Regions from separate parts of the Homo sapiens genome. Here all the other regions are linked to region 3. The links are contacts of gene promoters, found by promoter capture Hi-C in blood cells and fetal thymus (Javierre and others, 2016). All regions are on one chromosome and are shown on one strand. Each heading gives the region's core, a stretch centred on a gene start or on the middle of the fragment in contact. The rest is flanking DNA. Distances are from core to core; before and after follow the strand shown. Region 1 holds the start of SNRK-AS1 (SNRK antisense RNA 1). Region 2 has its middle 80 kb from the start of POMGNT2. Region 3 holds the start of SNRK (SNF related kinase). Region 4 has its middle 86 kb from the start of SNRK.

The links. Contacts are between HindIII fragments. The CHiCAGO score rates a contact against its expected background, and 5 or more counts as called.
Region 1: the fragment with the promoter of SNRK-AS1 here is called in contact with the fragment with the promoter of SNRK in region 3 in 4 of 17 cell types (total CD8 T cells, naive CD8 T cells, non-activated CD4 T cells and 1 more); the score reaches 7.3 in total CD8 T cells.
Region 2: a fragment that was not itself captured here is called in contact with the fragment with the promoter of SNRK in region 3 in 7 of 17 cell types (non-activated CD4 T cells, total CD4 T cells, naive CD4 T cells and 4 more); the score reaches 8.9 in non-activated CD4 T cells.
Region 4: a fragment that was not itself captured here is called in contact with the fragment with the promoter of SNRK in region 3 in 1 of 17 cell types (non-activated CD4 T cells); the score reaches 7.3 in non-activated CD4 T cells.

The regions. Positions count from the first base shown.
Region 1 is chr3:43,350,116-43,354,216 of GRCh38, reverse strand. SNRK-AS1 (SNRK antisense RNA 1) reads left to right here and starts at 2,255. Exons shown (of 3, transcript NR_046757.1): 1 at 2,255-2,619; 2 at 2,836-2,886. It overlaps SNRK (SNF related kinase), which reads right to left. Exons shown (of 7, transcript NM_017719.5): 7 at 3,074-4,101. The HindIII fragment of the contact is 8,620 bases long and covers 1-4,101 here.
Region 2 is chr3:43,183,939-43,188,220 of GRCh38, reverse strand. No RefSeq gene overlaps it. Among named protein-coding and RNA genes, the nearest start is that of POMGNT2, 80 kb to the right of the region's middle. The HindIII fragment of the contact is 1,576 bases long and covers 2,223-3,798 here.
Region 3 is chr3:43,284,406-43,288,337 of GRCh38, reverse strand. It overlaps SNRK (SNF related kinase), which reads right to left and starts at 1,798. Exons shown (of 7, transcript NM_017719.5): 1 at 1,663-1,798. RefSeq lists silencers at 1,264-1,313, 1,554-1,953 and an enhancer at 1,558-2,058. The HindIII fragment of the contact is 7,817 bases long and covers 1-3,837 here.
Region 4 is chr3:43,198,995-43,202,875 of GRCh38, reverse strand. No RefSeq gene overlaps it. Among named protein-coding and RNA genes, the nearest start is that of SNRK, 86 kb to the left of the region's middle. The HindIII fragment of the contact is 578 bases long and covers 1,116-1,693 here.

The DNA.
Region 1 (4,101 bases), core at 1,006-3,505, 65 kb before region 3:
CAACTAGGAAACCAAACAAAATATATGGAGCAATAGTTTCCAGACATTGAGCAACAGACAGCATAGGGCTGTCACCCCGAGAGAAGGGAGGCAAATGAGGTGAGCCCTGAGTTGAATGCCCCAGCTCACTGCCCAAAGGCAGTTGCCAGAACACAGAGAGGGAAAGCCCAAATAGTCTGGTTGAGTTGAGCAGGTAGTTTGAAGTTCAAGATCAATGTGCAGGGCAGAGAGGAGGGAGCTGCACAGATAGTGAGCAAGCTCCAAAAGAAAATCTGTGGTCTTTGGTTGAGTACTGATCAGTACTTATGAGAAAACTACCTGAGGCTGGAGAAAGAACCACTGGAAAGCAGCAGGCTGAACAATGCTCAGAACTTACCCAAGGCTGGTAATAGTTCATGTTCCTACCAGCCAGAGTAGAAAAGCCTCAATAGAGTCCCTAGAGAGGTATTGCCTCAGTAGTGGGCCAAATTAGCCCTAGACTGAAGACTGCTCAGGATCTGCCCTAACAGTTTAAAAGTGAGACATGAAGGATCCAATGATTTTAAATAACTGCAGTCCAAAATGAAATCCAATACTTCTCACACGAATACAAAAAATTCCAGCATTCAACAATGCAAAATTCAGTGTCCAGCATTGCAATAAAAATGAATCAAGAATTTTTATACCCAATGATAATATCTTTCATAAAGGAAAAGTAATTTTTCAAAACAAAAGCTGACAGAATGTAATGCCAGCAGATCTGCATTATATGAAATGTTAAAGAATGTTCTACAGGCAGAAGGAAAACCAAACTGTGGATCTACACAAAGAAATGAAGAGTGCTGCAAATGACAAATATGTAGCTAAAATACTCCCCCCCCCCCTGTTTAATCCCTTAAAAACTAGTTAAAACAATATTTATACATATACAAAAATAAAATGTATGACAACAGTAGTATAAGGAACAGGAAGAGGAAAATAGAGGCATACAGTTGTAAGGTTTTTATATTCTACATGAAGTGATATATTAAGATAGACTGTGATATAATAAAATACATGTATTGCAAATCTTATAGCACCCCCTGAAAAACAAGAGTTACAGCCAATAAGCCAATAGCGGAGATAAAATGGAGTAACAAAAGGTGCTCAGTTAAACCAAAACAAGGTAGCAAAAGAGGGAAAAAGAACAGACGAGACAAATAGAAAACTAGGTAGGTTTAAACTCAACCATATTGACAATTACACTAAATGTAATACATCTAAACCCTCAATCAAAGACAGACATTTGCTGATGGGATAAGAAAGCAAGCTCGAACTATATGATATCTGCAAAAAACAAACTTTAAACATAAAGACACAATAGGTTAACAGTAAAGAATGGAAAAAGATATATTCTCACAAGTCAAAAAAAAGCTGGAGTTACTGTATCACTATCACACAAAGTAGATTTCAGAACAAATAGTTTACCAGTCATAAAGAAGGAACATTTCATGAGGAAAGGGATCAATTCATTGATATGACGTAACAATCTTAAATGCTTATGTACCAAACAACAGAGCTTCAAATTTTCTAAAATAACACTGCTAGAACTAAAAGGAGAAATAGACAAATCCACAACTATAGTTGGAGATTTCAACACTCCTCTCTCAATAATTGAGACAGAAAATCAGTAAGAATATAGAAAACTTGAACATTATCAACCAACTTGAACGAACTGACATGTATAGGACACTCCACCAATAGCACTTTCCAAGCACTCAGGAAACATTCACCAAGATAGGTCGTATGTTGGGCCATAAAACAAGTTTCAGTAATTTCAAAAGATTTAAACTATAGAAAGCATGCACTGATAAAAATAGAATTAAACTAAAAATTATAGAAACCTATGTGGGAAAACCCCAAATATTTGGAAACTAAACACGTTTCAAAACATGGTATGATTTAGCCTTTAAAATGATCTCTCATACTGCTAAGTGGAAAATAAATGAGAAAGACAAGGGCAAATGCAGGGAAACCCTTTAAGAGGCATTTACAGTTGAGTGTCATGGACTAGAGTGGTAGTGGTGGTGGCAATGAGAAGGAGTCAACTGTGAAAGGCAAGTTAAGATTTGCTCATAAACTGAATGTTGGGATGAAAAAGTGGATGACACCAAGATTTTCAGCTTGAATGAAACTATTGAAGGCTAGGAGTTGATATTTATTAAGATGGGTGCGCTAGTAAAAGGATTTGAGGGGAAAGATTAGGGGTTTTGAACTTGTAAAAATTGAGATGCTGTAGACACACAGACACATCCAAGAAGAAAAGTCAAATAGATAGTTGAAATCCAGTGTTCCCAGGGTATGTGGGCTAAATATATTTTGGGCTTCTATCAGCATATAGATACTAGACTAACTGAGATCAGGAGTCACTGCAGATAGAGCAGGGGTCCAGAATTGAACATTGGGACATTCCAAATTTAGAGGTTGGAAGAATGAGGAAGGACCAGTGGACATGAAGAGCAGCAAGGCAGAAGTGAGATACTGAAAGATGGGAAGTTCATAAGGAAGAAAGTGAGCAATTCATCAAATTCTAACATGGGATTGAAAATTGATCACAGGAAGTGGTTGCATGAGGCTGGAGTAAAGGGAGTTGCGGACAAGGTAAAGTATGCCAAAGGGCACAAGATTTCTTTGGCGGGCGGGGGGGGGTTGTAAAAGTCAATTATGGTAATGGTTGTGAGAACTGAGTAAGAGTAGCTGACCTTGGAATCACAGTAACAGGAGGAAGGGCAGAGCATGTGAATGTGTATGAAGGAAGGGAGGAAGGCAGAGGTGGGAACTTGTGGCAGTTCTCATTGCTTCCCTTTATTCAATTAGGCAGCATGGTGACCAGCAGAGTGAGGAAAGGAGATGAAATAGAGAAATAAAGTAAGTATACTTAATGGGCACCCTGGCCCCACCTATGATTTGTAGCCATGAGTTTAAACATAATAATGACTGTACTTTTTCAGCCAAATCTGGTGGTGCAGGCACAGGGCATGGAGAAGGCTGGGTCTAACTGAGGTGGGATCACACAAAGCTACACTCATGAGAAGCAATACAACACAGGACACGGTTTATATTGCTGAACACCAATATGTCACTTTATTATTTGGATTTTTTTTCCCATTTGTCACATACCTGTCAATGTTTACACAATGAGGGAAATCAACCAGCATTGGAAGCAACTGACCAAATCAGTTGATAATTCTGTACCCTCTTAACACACATCAATTTTCACTTGGTAGGGATTATCTTTAATTCGGTCTCACAGCTATTCTTAAAATTGGTGTCAAGATTGTCACATCTTTAAATACAGATAGAATTGCCAGAAGTACATAATTATATATATATACACACATACAGAAAAATACAAGACTGTTTTTCCACAATATTTAATTTATACACTACTGTAACTATATGCAACTTTTGAAGACAGGTTAAGGGGTACAAGTAACTGTTTAGAGCAAGTAAGTAGTTTGGTCCAATATTATCTTAATGTAATGGTTTTTCGCTCCCTCCCTTTTATGTGACGACATACTATGACATACAAAACATGCACAATCATTCACTTATAAACAAAGGAGTAAGACACCACTCAGACTGACATTTGTATACCCCAAGGGTCAACCACACAACTAATAAGGCTATAATACAGCTATGCAGCATAAATGGTCAACACTGCTGATCCTAAAGTGAGCACCATATATACATCTGAATATAAAAAACCATTGAAACCAAACACATATGGGTTAGTTAAAAGGTGCCATTCCAAGGCTATACATAATCACAGGAAAAAGTATTTACACTGCTTGGAAAACAGCTGCAACAAAGAGTTTATTGCCAATGCCCTTTATAAACTTCTCTCCTATGTTTAATACAGATGTTACGCTCACTATCTATGTGAACCACACATCTTATTTCTGGCCCTTTATAAGATCCCTGCTCAAGAATTTCAAGCAAATATGTTCTATGGCTTCACCCACACATCTATTCTCATAGCTTTCAAATTATAAATATCACAATGAACTAGAGCTGTAGCTTAAAACATCTAGCCTAGGTCTAGAAAGTAAAATAAGTATTTTAAGTATCATTTTTACTTAG
Region 2 (4,282 bases), core at 1,761-4,260, 100 kb after region 3:
CAAACCCTGGGACTATGCTGGGTACCTTAGAACTTCATCTCATTGTGTGTTAGCTGATGGACTGAAGAGAACTAATGGGAAGGGATGGTTATATATGGGCTTTCTGTATATGACAAAGGCAAGTGCATTTTCAAGAGTGAGTAGAGGCCTCTGCCAGCTGGGTAGAGGCAAGCATGGTGGTTCTTTTGCCAGAATTCCATGCTGTTTCTCTGTGCCTGAGTGATTTGGTTTGGTACTCTAATACCAAGCCAGACAAGGATACTACAGGAAAAGAAAATTACAGGCCAATATCTCTGCTGAACATAGAAACAAAAATCCTCAACAAAATACTAGCAAACCAAATTCAACAGCATGTTAAAGGATCATACACCACAATCAAGTGGTATTTATCTCTGGAATGTAAGGATGGGTCAACATACGCAAATTAATAAATGACATACCGCATTGACAGAATGAAGAATTAAAATAATGAGATTTTCTGCATCTCAATAAATGCAGAAAAAGCATTTGACAAAATTTAACATCTTTTCATGATTAAAACTCTCAAAAATTATAGATAGAAAAAATGTACCTCAACATAGCAAATGCCCTATGTGACAAGTCCACAGCTAATATTATACTCAATGGAAAAAGTTGAAAGCTTTTCCTCTAAGATTGGAAACAAGATAAGGATGTCCACTCTCACCACTTCTATTTAGTAAAGTACTTACTGGAAGTCCTAGCCAGAGCAATAGGAAAGAAAAAGAAATAAAAGGCATCCAAATTGAAAGGAAGAAGCAAAATTGTCTGTGTTTGCAGGTGATACCATCTATTAAAAAACCCTGAAGACTTCACAAAAAACTATTAGAACTAATAAATTCAGTAAAGTTGCAGGATACAAAATTAACATTTCAAAATCAATAATCTATCCTTTCTTTTCCTTTCTTTCCTTTCTTTCCTTCCTTCCTTTCTTCCTTTCTCCTTTCTTAAAATCATATAAATGGCCAACAAGTATATGGAAAAAATGCTTAACATTATTAATCATCAGAGAAATGCAAATTAAAACCACAATGAGGCATCACCTCATACCTGTTAGGATGGCTGTTATCAAAAAGATAAAATAAAAGTGTTGGTAAGGATGTAGAGAAAAGGGAATTCTTGTACACAGCCCCATGAAAAAACTTGGCTGCTTACACCCCTGGTCACAGGACGATTTGTGTAGTAGTGGGAATAGAAGCTGCTGAAGGGTTTTCAGCTTCTCACGGATAAAACTAAGGGAGTGTCTTGCTGTGACCAGGAAGATGGCCCTCCAGAACAGGGAGGGGGTTCCCACCTTCCCTTGGCTTCCCAGAGCATGGTGGAGAGGTTAGGACTCAAACAGATGTCTGTTCAAATCCTGATGCTGAGGCTATCTCACTGTAGGAATGTGAACGAGTTACTTAACCTCTCTATGCCTCAGTTTTCTTGGCTGAAAGTGAAGGTAGCAACACATAGCACTTAGGGTTGTGTAAGGAACTAATTGGATAATGTGTATATAAATTACTTGGTTTATGGTAGGTGCCCAATTGATGATAGCTGTTAGTCTGCATCAGTACCACTAAGTGTAGGCAATCAGGAAGCCACACTAGAATGCCAAAGAAATGGATAAAAAGACCATTGAACATCTCTCAGATATAACATCATTATGACCCCAGGGCATAGCACATAGTTAGCACTTGGTAAATATTTGATAAACTCAATGAATGAATGAATCAATCAGTATGTCCTAGGCCATCTCAGACATGCAAGTAGCAATGAGGGTGAAGAGCTCATCTCTGGAGGAGCTAAGAAAATCCCTGTGATGATTATACTATTAATAAAGCAGCAAATAATTAAGAACAGTTACTCCATGCCTGATGCTAAACTTCAAAACACCCTTATAAGGTGGTGCTTCACTTCCATTTTACCTAGGAGGAAACCGAAGCACAGAGAGGTCCCATAACCTGCCCTATCTCATGCAGTTACAGAGAGTGGAGCAGCGTCTATGTCTGGATCTTGGGGCAGGAAGGTGGTGGAGCAGTGCCTCCTCCCGCTTGGTTAAAGTGACAATGGGCAAGGAAATTGAACTCAATTTAGTGCTGAAGGCAGATGGAGGCATTTCCTGAATGAGGACAGGATACGGGGTGGTCACTCGGTTGAGGCCAGTTACGTGCATGGTGCCACCACAGTCGGCTCCTACGTGGCCTGATCAGGTTGCTGAAGCTTCACATGTTCTTCTGTTTGGAGTTGGGAACTGCACTGCCATTTATTAGATGATCCCAAAATGCCCTGATGTATTGTACACTTCAAGGTCTGCTTGGTCATGTTGCACTGTGTTTTCACCATTTTCATCATCCAGCTGAGTAATTTTACGTAGAATAACAAACAACACACAGCTATTTAAAAGATCTTTATCACTGACATTCCTACTGCAAACGAATGGCATTGCTATTATAAATCTGAAGCTCTCTAGCCCACAAACCTGTTTATCCTTTTTGTTTGTTTGTTTAAGACTTAGAATACAACTTTGTTAATGTGAAGTTTCTTAGGGCATTTTTATTACCCCTAACAAAGGACAAGCAAGAAAAATATCAGGACTAACAATGTCCTCTTAACATGGCCAAAGGTGATCGAGTGGGGAAATACTGGGGGGCCTGGCAGGGGTCACCAAGCCCTGTGCCACATGAGTGAGGTCACCTGCTCCCCAATTTGCTTGGACTATGACTGTGAGTGCCAAACGTGAGTCTTGGCCAGCTCCTGGGGTGTGACCAGACTTGTCAGCTATGACACCTGCCAGCCTGTCCTGACCTTCCTCAGGGATGACACTGGCTGGGTGAAGGGTGACCCAAGGAAGCTCGTCCATTGTTGGTACCTGACCCATGAGATGTGAAGGTCATTGGAGCTGAGCCAATCACATCAGCTCCCACTAGGATGTGGCCCAGGCACCCAGGAGAGAGAGGATTGGTCCACTGGGAGCAGCGGAACCTGCAAGGCCCCAAAATTGAGAGGGGCTGTGGCTCCCTGGGAAATTAGGATCATAAACTTTTGACAGTGCCTGACTGTAGGTCTGGTTCTCTGACTTTCCCTATTTCACAGAGAGGACTCATCATGCCTGGGTTGCACAGTGTCCCCTCCTAGAGCATTCTGGGTTGAAGGCCTTTGCTCCCCGCTTCCCTGTTCCATCCCTGGTCCTGGCTGAGGCAGGTGAGAGGAGTCCAGAATTGGGCAAGTTGGGTGGCTGAGTTCCATCTCCTTGGTGCTCTGCGTGAGTGTCCAAAGGACCTTTCCGGGCCATAAAGGGATCACTTGCCGCTCATCATTGCCAATGAACAGTTCTTCCTCCCTAAGTCCCACATCTCTGCTAAGGAGCCTGAGTATCTGGGGCCTTTCATCAGCCAAAAATAAGCTACCATGTATGAGGTATGGCTGTGCTGCCCTTCAACTTTTAGCAAGATGGTAGGGGATTGTGTGAAGAGCCCACGGCTGGCCCTTTCATGATTTATGTTGCCTCTCTGAGCCTCATCTTGAGGAGCACTTTGAGAAGGCCTGACCCATGCCCAACAAAAAGCTGATCTGCCAAAAGTACAGCTAGTGGGAATGACTGGTGACCTTGCCAATCCTGCAGGCCCCTCTGTGACTTCACTCTTAAGCTAGGCCACCGTAGAAACCATTCCTGGTCTCCATCTGGGTCTAAGTGGTGGTGGTGAGGTCCTGCCAGTGCCTGGCCCTCCCTAGAAGGAGCTCTTCGGGGGTTCTTAAGCTGTTTGTGGGATAAGCTCAGATAGAAACAAAAAGCAAGCTTACAAAGGACCAAAAGACTCCTATTGTCTTTGGTCCTCACTTTCTCTATCTGAAGACAATGAGGGAGTTGGACAAGCCAATCCCAGAGCCTTTCATTGCCCTAATCAAGATCAAATATAGAAATGTGAGCCAGAGGGAAATACAGGAGCCCTATCAAAGCTAGGCATGATAGGGCCTAGCTTGGTGTCACAGAGAGGAGGGCTCAAGCTAGGGGCTAGGAGGAAGACCCCAATCCCTATGGCCTGTTTGAGTGTATTATGTCCCTACCACATCAGCCAGTGTTTACAGGTTCTCTCCTGGGTTCTGATCTAATCTGATCTACTTCTGCACTGGGCTGCTCCGTCTCCCTGACCCCGTCTCCCCATCATCTGGGAAATTTTTCCACAGTTCCTGTTTCTCTCCTGAGCTTCCCTATCTCTGAGTCCTTAAGGGAAGGACAAAGTAGGACCCTCAGGTTGGGATTTCTGACTGCAAGCAACAGAAA
Region 3 (3,932 bases), core at 549-3,048:
AACAGAAAAAAATACTCAGAATTATTAAAAAATACGGTGAGAGTAATTTTTGTGCACAAAATGAACAATTAAAAACTGATTATACAAATTTAAAAAAAAATTGAAAGGTGGCACTGAAAGTTTCCTGCCTGAAAAGCCTTCAGGATGAGAGTATTATAAAAAGTTAGCACTGTGCACCTGACTTTCTACACTGCTTCAATATGTGACCTTGGAAATGTCATGTAATTTCTCTCATTTCTAGTTCTGTAAAATGGGAATGTCCACCTGTTCTCCTCTCAAGGACAATTACACAGATAATCAGATTAAAAATTTGGTATTTGGTGTTCTTTAAAAAAAGAAACTTGTCTAATTAGTATGCTTTAATCATCACTTGTACAGTACATTCCTCTTCAAGAATCCAATTCCAAGAGAAATATTTAAGCAGACGTTGAGGACAGATTTCCTTAAGGGAATTATTTTATAAATCTGGAAAGCAATGTAACGAGATTATAAATTAACAAACTGATTACATAAGCCTTGACAACCCGGGCTTTAAAGTACACTGCTGTATATATTCTGATAAGTTAAAGACTGGTTTGGGACATAGTGCTCCAATCCCATACAAGGAGCCCAAACTCAGGCATTTCATGTTTGATAGGAACTTGGTGGAGATTCAACAGGATGTCCAACACTTGCAAGCCATGCTTCACCTTAAAACCTGACAAAATGTTTAAGGCATTAAGTCAACTTTACCACGGTTCCTAAGACTTTAAGAATGCACATAATTAAAGGGAAGGGGGGTGGAAAGTAACATGACAGTTTGAAAGGTCCCATATCCTCAGACCTCTATAGATTTAGGAACTCCACTGCTAAATTCTCCCCAAAGCCTGAAACTCCCTATGAAACTACTGGACTGTATGCGATCCAACAGTTACAAATAGCACAGCTCCAAGAACCCCGAAGATAAAAGGCTGCCACTTTCCTGCAACCCAAGTCCAAGTAAAAGGCAGGAAGGTCCCTGTAAAATGGACCAGAAAGAAATCAACAGGCGATGACTATGGAAAAGAACGTAGATTTCCCAGTCTCCCAGTCTGCAAAAATTCTAGCTCTCCCTCGGGAATGGCACTGCTCCTCTTTCCTTACCCCTTTGCCCTTTCTCTACAGACAACATCCCCACTCTATTGTAAAGCAGTTTGACCACGGAACCCTTTTGCTGAGGCCGGATTTCTACAGTCTTCTGAAAGGGGAAAACGCATTCAAAGAACACACACCCTACCAAGCGCCCAGGGCGCGGGGCCCCGCGGGCGCCGCACTCGGCCCGCTCCGGGGCGGGGCGCGGGGATGCGGGCGCCTTCCGAGGTGCCGCAATCCCGCCGCGGCCGCAAGGGCAGGGCCTCCAGGCGACCGCGGCCGCCGCCGCAGTGACGGCTCCCGCCGGGCCCCGCCGCCGCCCCGCCGCCAGGCCGCGCCGCGGGGTCCGGGCCACCGCAGCCCGGGCCCCGCGTCCTCCCGGGCCGCGCGCTGCGGCCGGCGCCGAGAGCGCAACTTACTTTCCGCCTGCGGCGAGCGCCCCGGCCCGGGCGCCCAGCCCGGCAACAGCGGAGGCTACTGAGGCGGCGGAGGCCGGCCCCGCACCCCTGCCTACGGCCGCCGCGCCCCGCCGCGCTCCGCGCTCGCCCCTACCTCAGCCGGCAGGCGAGCGTCCGTCCGCAGCGGCCGCGGCGCCGACAACTCCCTCCCGGCCGCCGAAACCCCGCACCCAGCGCTAATCATAATACCGAGCGGGCTGCCGGCCGCGGGGAGGGGGTGCCGGGTAGCTGCGCCTGCGCGGGCTGCGCGTCACTGTGACGTCAGCGCTGGGGCGGGGCCGCGGGAAGGGCAGGGCGGGGCGGCGCGCACCTGCGGCCGGCGCGCGGGCTGCTGGAGGGCATCCTGGCGGCTTTCTGACCCCGGCGAGTCGGGGCTGAGGCGGCTGGCGGGACAAAGCGGGCAAGGCGCCCAAGGAGGATGGAGGACGGGGGAGGAGGAAGCACCAGGGACACGGAACAATGGCCGGGAAAAAGTAGCGCGAGCTGTCAGGGGAAATCGGAGGGAAGGGACCGCGTCTGTACAGGACTGCGTCTTGGCGGCAGGGGGCAGGGAGCCGCACGCGCTTTACTCTTTGGTTCCCGCCCAGGTTTAAACAAGGATAAAAAAATTGTAAAAATACATATACATACACACATGCACATATGTATATACATATATATACATAATATGATTTTTTTCTCTGTAGTTTCTTCTCCCTGGGACTCTAATTTGAAAAAATTCGGTTGATTTTGTTGTTATTTAAGCAAAATTGGAAAAGCCCAACATCTGAATGCAGTGCTGGCCTTAAAGGTCAGCGGGAGACACAGGCCCTGCTAGGCAGCCTCTGGCAACAGCATAGAAAAGTAAACGGTCGTGGGGACACATCAAAGCACGTGAAGTCAGAGATTCAAAACACGCCGGGCATTAACCATAGCCCTTGATGGTTCAGTGGTATGGTCGCCAGGCCAGGTTGCTCTGGAAGGGAGCTTAGGGATGGCCGCAGAGGGTGGGAGGGGACTCCCGACTCCCACCCCTGGAAGCATGGCATGCAATAGAGACCAGCTCTTCAGGGTTCCTGGAAGGGAACACCAACAAACCAGACGCCAGATTTCTTCAACCTGCTTTTCCCCTTCTGTTCCCACGTTGTGTCCACCCTTCCCCAAGAAAGGACCCCTAGCAAGGAAGGACACAAGCCAGAAGAGCTGCGGAGATGCTGCAGGCTTGGTTGAATTGACTGGACTGCGAAGAGAAATCTAGATGGTTTTAGCAAATCTCTGTTGACCTGCAAATGTCAAAAGCCTTTTAGCTTCTATGCATCAACTTTGCATGTCTGAAGATGATTGGGAAGCAGGAGTGGATTGTTGGGAGGTGCAAACAGTTTGATTCTTAGGGTAATAACATAGGGTTTTCTGATCAAGGGGACTCCCAGTTACCCTAATACCCTTGCATCAGGTGGTGGGAGAGCACCAGGGAAAGCCTCAGATTAGGCCTCTGCGCCTTAGGGTCCCACCTGGGATCACTCTGACCTGAAAAGACCATAAAAGAGTCATCTCATTTTGACATGGAAATCGTAACTGTAGCAGCATATTAAGCAAGAGCTCCTAACTTGGATTTGTAGAATTTGTCCTTTTGTTGCTAGAAATCAGGAAGACCATGCACTTTTCTCCTCAGGGAGATATCACTATTCAGGGAACTCTGTAGCCAACTAAAGGGAGAAAATACCACTGTAATGGTCTCCCAAGGGATTTCCAGTGGTCGAAGGCCTCCACCCCTGGGTCTGTAGTCCCTGAGTTATATCAGTAACTACAGAACAATGACGATAATATATAAGCTCTTGAAAAATAAAGTATTTATATTGCTGCTGTTTAACTAGGTTTTGAATAAATTTTCTAAGGAAAACAAGGCATAAAAGAGCAAAACAAATGAAAAAGGGCAAAATAATAAATTGATTTAAATGAAGTTGGCTGCAATACTCTTCTAGAGAAGGACGCAGTACTGGCCACATGGTAAATCATTTATTCATCCCCAGTATTTCTTGGGTAGCTGAAGTGCTGCTGGCAAGAATATGACCCAGTTTTGGTTCCACACCATAAATGTGGTGACATGATTTGATTATGCTTCGGCAATATTTTAAGATATTCAAGTACAAATTAATAGTATTACTTAAGTTGGAATTTAAGCAAATGTGCTTATAGTTAATGAAGAAACTCCTTTTCCACTCTGCCCTGGGGCTTTCTCCAACACACTGCTTTTTTAATGTTGGGTCTTTTTATGGACCTGTAAGAAGCTTTAATTAGATGTACAGCATTCTACAAAACGACAAGATGAAGCATGCTTGCTTGTATTACAGTCTCTGTGATTCAGATCTCAAAAATAACATAATG
Region 4 (3,881 bases), core at 155-2,654, 85 kb after region 3:
TGGCATGATCTTGGCTCACTACAACCTCCACCTCCTGAGTTCAAGCAATTCTTGCACCTCAGCTTCCCAAGTAGCTGGGATTACAGGCATGTGCCACCACACCTGGCCAATTTTTGTATTTTTTAGTAGAGATAGGGTTTCACCGTGTTGCCCAGGCAGGTCTCAAACTCCTGCCTCAAGTGATCCAACCACCTCAGCCTCCCAAAGTGCTGGGATTACAGGCATGACCCACCATGCCCGGCTTGTACACTGGAATTCTGAGGGACTCCTGCATCCACCATCTGTTGAGCACAGCCACTTTGCCACTGTTGAATTTAAGTAGAGGTTTGAAAAACTCTTAGGAGGAAACATTTCTCTTCCTAGCAAAAAACAAGAGCTTTGGGGAATTTTCGTCAAAATCAGCCCAATGACTGCTCAAAAGCTTTGGTTTTACTCTATTAAATTACATTTTTCTTAAACTGCTGGGCGAATGTTACTGTCTCAGAGACCCCCTCAACTGACAGATAAGATCTCCCTTCTAGCCACCTGAAGAAAGAGCGAGTCTTGCATTTTACATGCCAAGATTTGAGTGTGTCCATCTGTCTTGGAGCCTGCAAGGGTCAGCTTACAAAAATATGCAGCCTCACTCTATCTTCCACCCACGTTACAAGTTTGAGGAACGGGTACAGTCAAGGCAACAAGAATCCAGGTCTTTCTATAGTTGTGCTTGCTAGCAAATTAGTGTCTGAGAATTTGGAAACAGTACCAAGAGGATAACTATAAGGAGACATACCTTATATATCTTCTTAGGTTCCCTCTATGGCTTCGTACCCTCTTCTGGATAGTGCCCATTCACTCCCGGATGCCCTCCACTTTTGGACTGGGTGAAACACCTCACCATGGGGCATGGGATCTGGTTTCTTGGGCAGTCATCAGGGACTGGATAATGCAAGGTTAGTAACTATTCAGGAAGTGGACATTGACCTAGGAGATAGAAGACAGATGGGCGCAGGGCAGATAACTTCCCCCATCCTACTCTGTCTTGTGGGTGCCTCTGCATCATTAATCCTTCCTGCAGCCTTTTCAGAGAACTCTTTATACTAAGTAAACATGCAACCTGGTGTCCCATCCAAGCTTATGGTGGGTGAAATAGGTCATCACAGTAGTGCATTGCATTACTTCTCATGACTTCTCTTCCCTCATTTTCTGCCCCCTCATCTCCATTGCTCTGGGCTTGCAACTTCTAAGCAAATTAGAACCTCAATCCTTGCTCAGTTTCTGCTTTCTGAAGGACCTAGACCAAGGCAGGAAATAATATTTGTTCAGCACCTGCCAAGTGCCCACAGGTGCTTGTGATATATTCAAACTGATTATGGAACTTGGAAAGCTCATTCAGAAGAGCAAGAAACATGTCCCCAGGGCACCTAGGAAATCAGCAGCAGAATGGGAGTAGAATTGTTAAAACAGGACTGAAACATGGCTGATGAGAAAAAGAAGGAAAAGAGGGAGGAGCAGAATGGAGATTGGGTGTCATCAGGTCTTTGGGTGCCAAATGAACAAAGAGGGCTTTTGTATTGAGACTTTCAGGTTAAATCCCAGGCATCCAAGTTGGTGACCAAGTTAGGAAAGATTTCTGTTTTGGGGATTCAGCTTATACAACACTTTTGTGTTTTCTTTGTGGCAGAAGTTTTTAAAGAATGAGGAAGGGTAAGCTTTCAGTACCGGTATATTAGTTATCTATTATTGCCTGACAAATTATTCCACAACTCAGTGGTTTAAAATAACAATAATCAGCTGGGCGTGGTGGCTCATGCCTATAATCTCAGCACTTTGGGAGGCCAAGGCGAGCAGATCACTTGAGGCCAGGAGTTCAAAAGCAGCCTGGCCAACATGGTGAAACCCCATCTCTACCAAAAATACAAAAATTAGCCAGGTGTTGTGGTGCGTGCCTGTAATCCCAGCTACTTGGGAGGTTGAGGCACAAGAATCGTTTGAACCCAGGAGGCGGAGGTTGCAGCGAGCCGAGATTGCACCACTGCACTCCAGCCTGGGTGACAACGTGAGACTGTCTCTAAAAAATAAAAATAAATAAATAAATAAAAGAACAGTAATCAATTATTGTCTCTCAAAGTGTCTGTGGGTCAGGAATTCAGGGGTGGTGTGGCTGGGAGGTTGTGGCTATGGTCTCTCATGCGGTTAAAGTCAAATGTTTGCTGAGATTACAGCCAATTGAAGGCTGACTGAAGCAAGAGGATCCATTTCCAAGATAGTTCACTATTAGCACGAGACCTTAATTACTTTCTTCAAGAGCCTCTCCCTGTGGTGGCTTGAGTGTTCTCATGACGTAGTGGCTGGCATCCCCTAGAGCAAACAATCCAAAAGACCAAAGCAGAAGCTGCCGTGCCCTTTATGGCTTACCTTCAGAAGCCACTCACCGTTCTCTTCACCATACTCTATCGGTCACACAGAAAGCCCAAGTTCAATTCAGGAAGAGTATGGCCACCAGGAGGTAAGTGAGGATCCTGCCCGGAGGAGCAGCATTTTTGGAGACTGGACCACAACCAGCATCCTGGAACATGAGAGCTGGGAGAGTTCTTAGAGGTAATCTGTTTCAATATTCTTATTTAGTAGCTGAAAAACCCAAAGATCAGAGAGGTTAAACAACTTGCTCCAGGTCGCTTAGTGAATCATCTGTTCACACTTAATTCAGGATTCAACAGTGCCTGCAGGAAGCCCATTTTATGAGGCCATATGAGAGCTGGACCTCATGGTCAAACAGCATCACTATGCTGATGAAGAAGGAAGGAAGAAGTCAGGCGTGATGCATTAAACAAGAGTTGCCAAATGAATACACTGCAAAGCTGATTATAGAAGTCCATTCATATATTCAAGATATATTTATGGAGTGCTTACTTCATATTTGGCATTGGCTGGGCACTGGTACAGAGGTAGGCAAAAACATGCTCTTGCTCTCTTAGACCTTGTGGTGTAGTGGGGAAAACAGACATGAGTTGCATAGTTCCACAGATAATGGAAGTACTATGACTATGACAAGTGCTTTGAAGAGGAGGCTGAAGACTGTGACAGCCCAGAATATTAGGTTTGTTCCAGCCAGCGAGGCTTCTCCAAGGAAGTGATGATTCAATTATCACTTGACAGCCTGAAAATGAGTTCTAGTATCAATGAGATAATGATTTTTGTTCAAGTTTTGTTTTTTTTAAGATATTATATTCTCCACCTCCAAAAGTTCCATTTGAGTTTTCTTTTATATCTTCTACTTCTCTCAGAATTGAGTTTGTGTTTTCCTTGAGTATCCTTTCATATATTTATGAGATTTATAATAGCTATTTTAATGTCCACTTTTGCTAGTTCCATCATCTCTGCTGTTGCTGGGACTTCTTCTATTTTTCCTCCTGGTTATGAGTCATATACTCCTGCGCTTTTGTATGCCTGGTCATTTTCTACTGGATGCTAGATAATGGGAATTTTACCGTGTTGGGTGTTGGATTTTGTTTTATTCCTCAGAAGAGTGTTGGGCTTTGTTCTGGCACACAGTTACTTGGAAACAGTTTGATCCTTTCAGGACTTGCTTTTAAATTTTGTTATGGTAGTGTTATCAAGCAAAAGAGCTCACTACCTGATGTATGAGAAGCCAACACCATGTCATCAGGTTTTTTCAGAAAAGAAAAGCCTTTCCTGTGAGTCAACCAACAAGGTGACAGAAGTTAAGCTCAAATCTGTCTCCCTGTGCTGGCTTTAAGGCAAAGTTTTTTTATTAGAAAAGGTTTAGGGGGTAGATTTTGGGATTAGTAGGTGATTGGTAGGAGGGAAGGGGAGGTCTGGAAAGTCTTTGGACGTGTGTAGTTTCAAAAAATGTTATTTTATGGATTGTATGTGTAAAT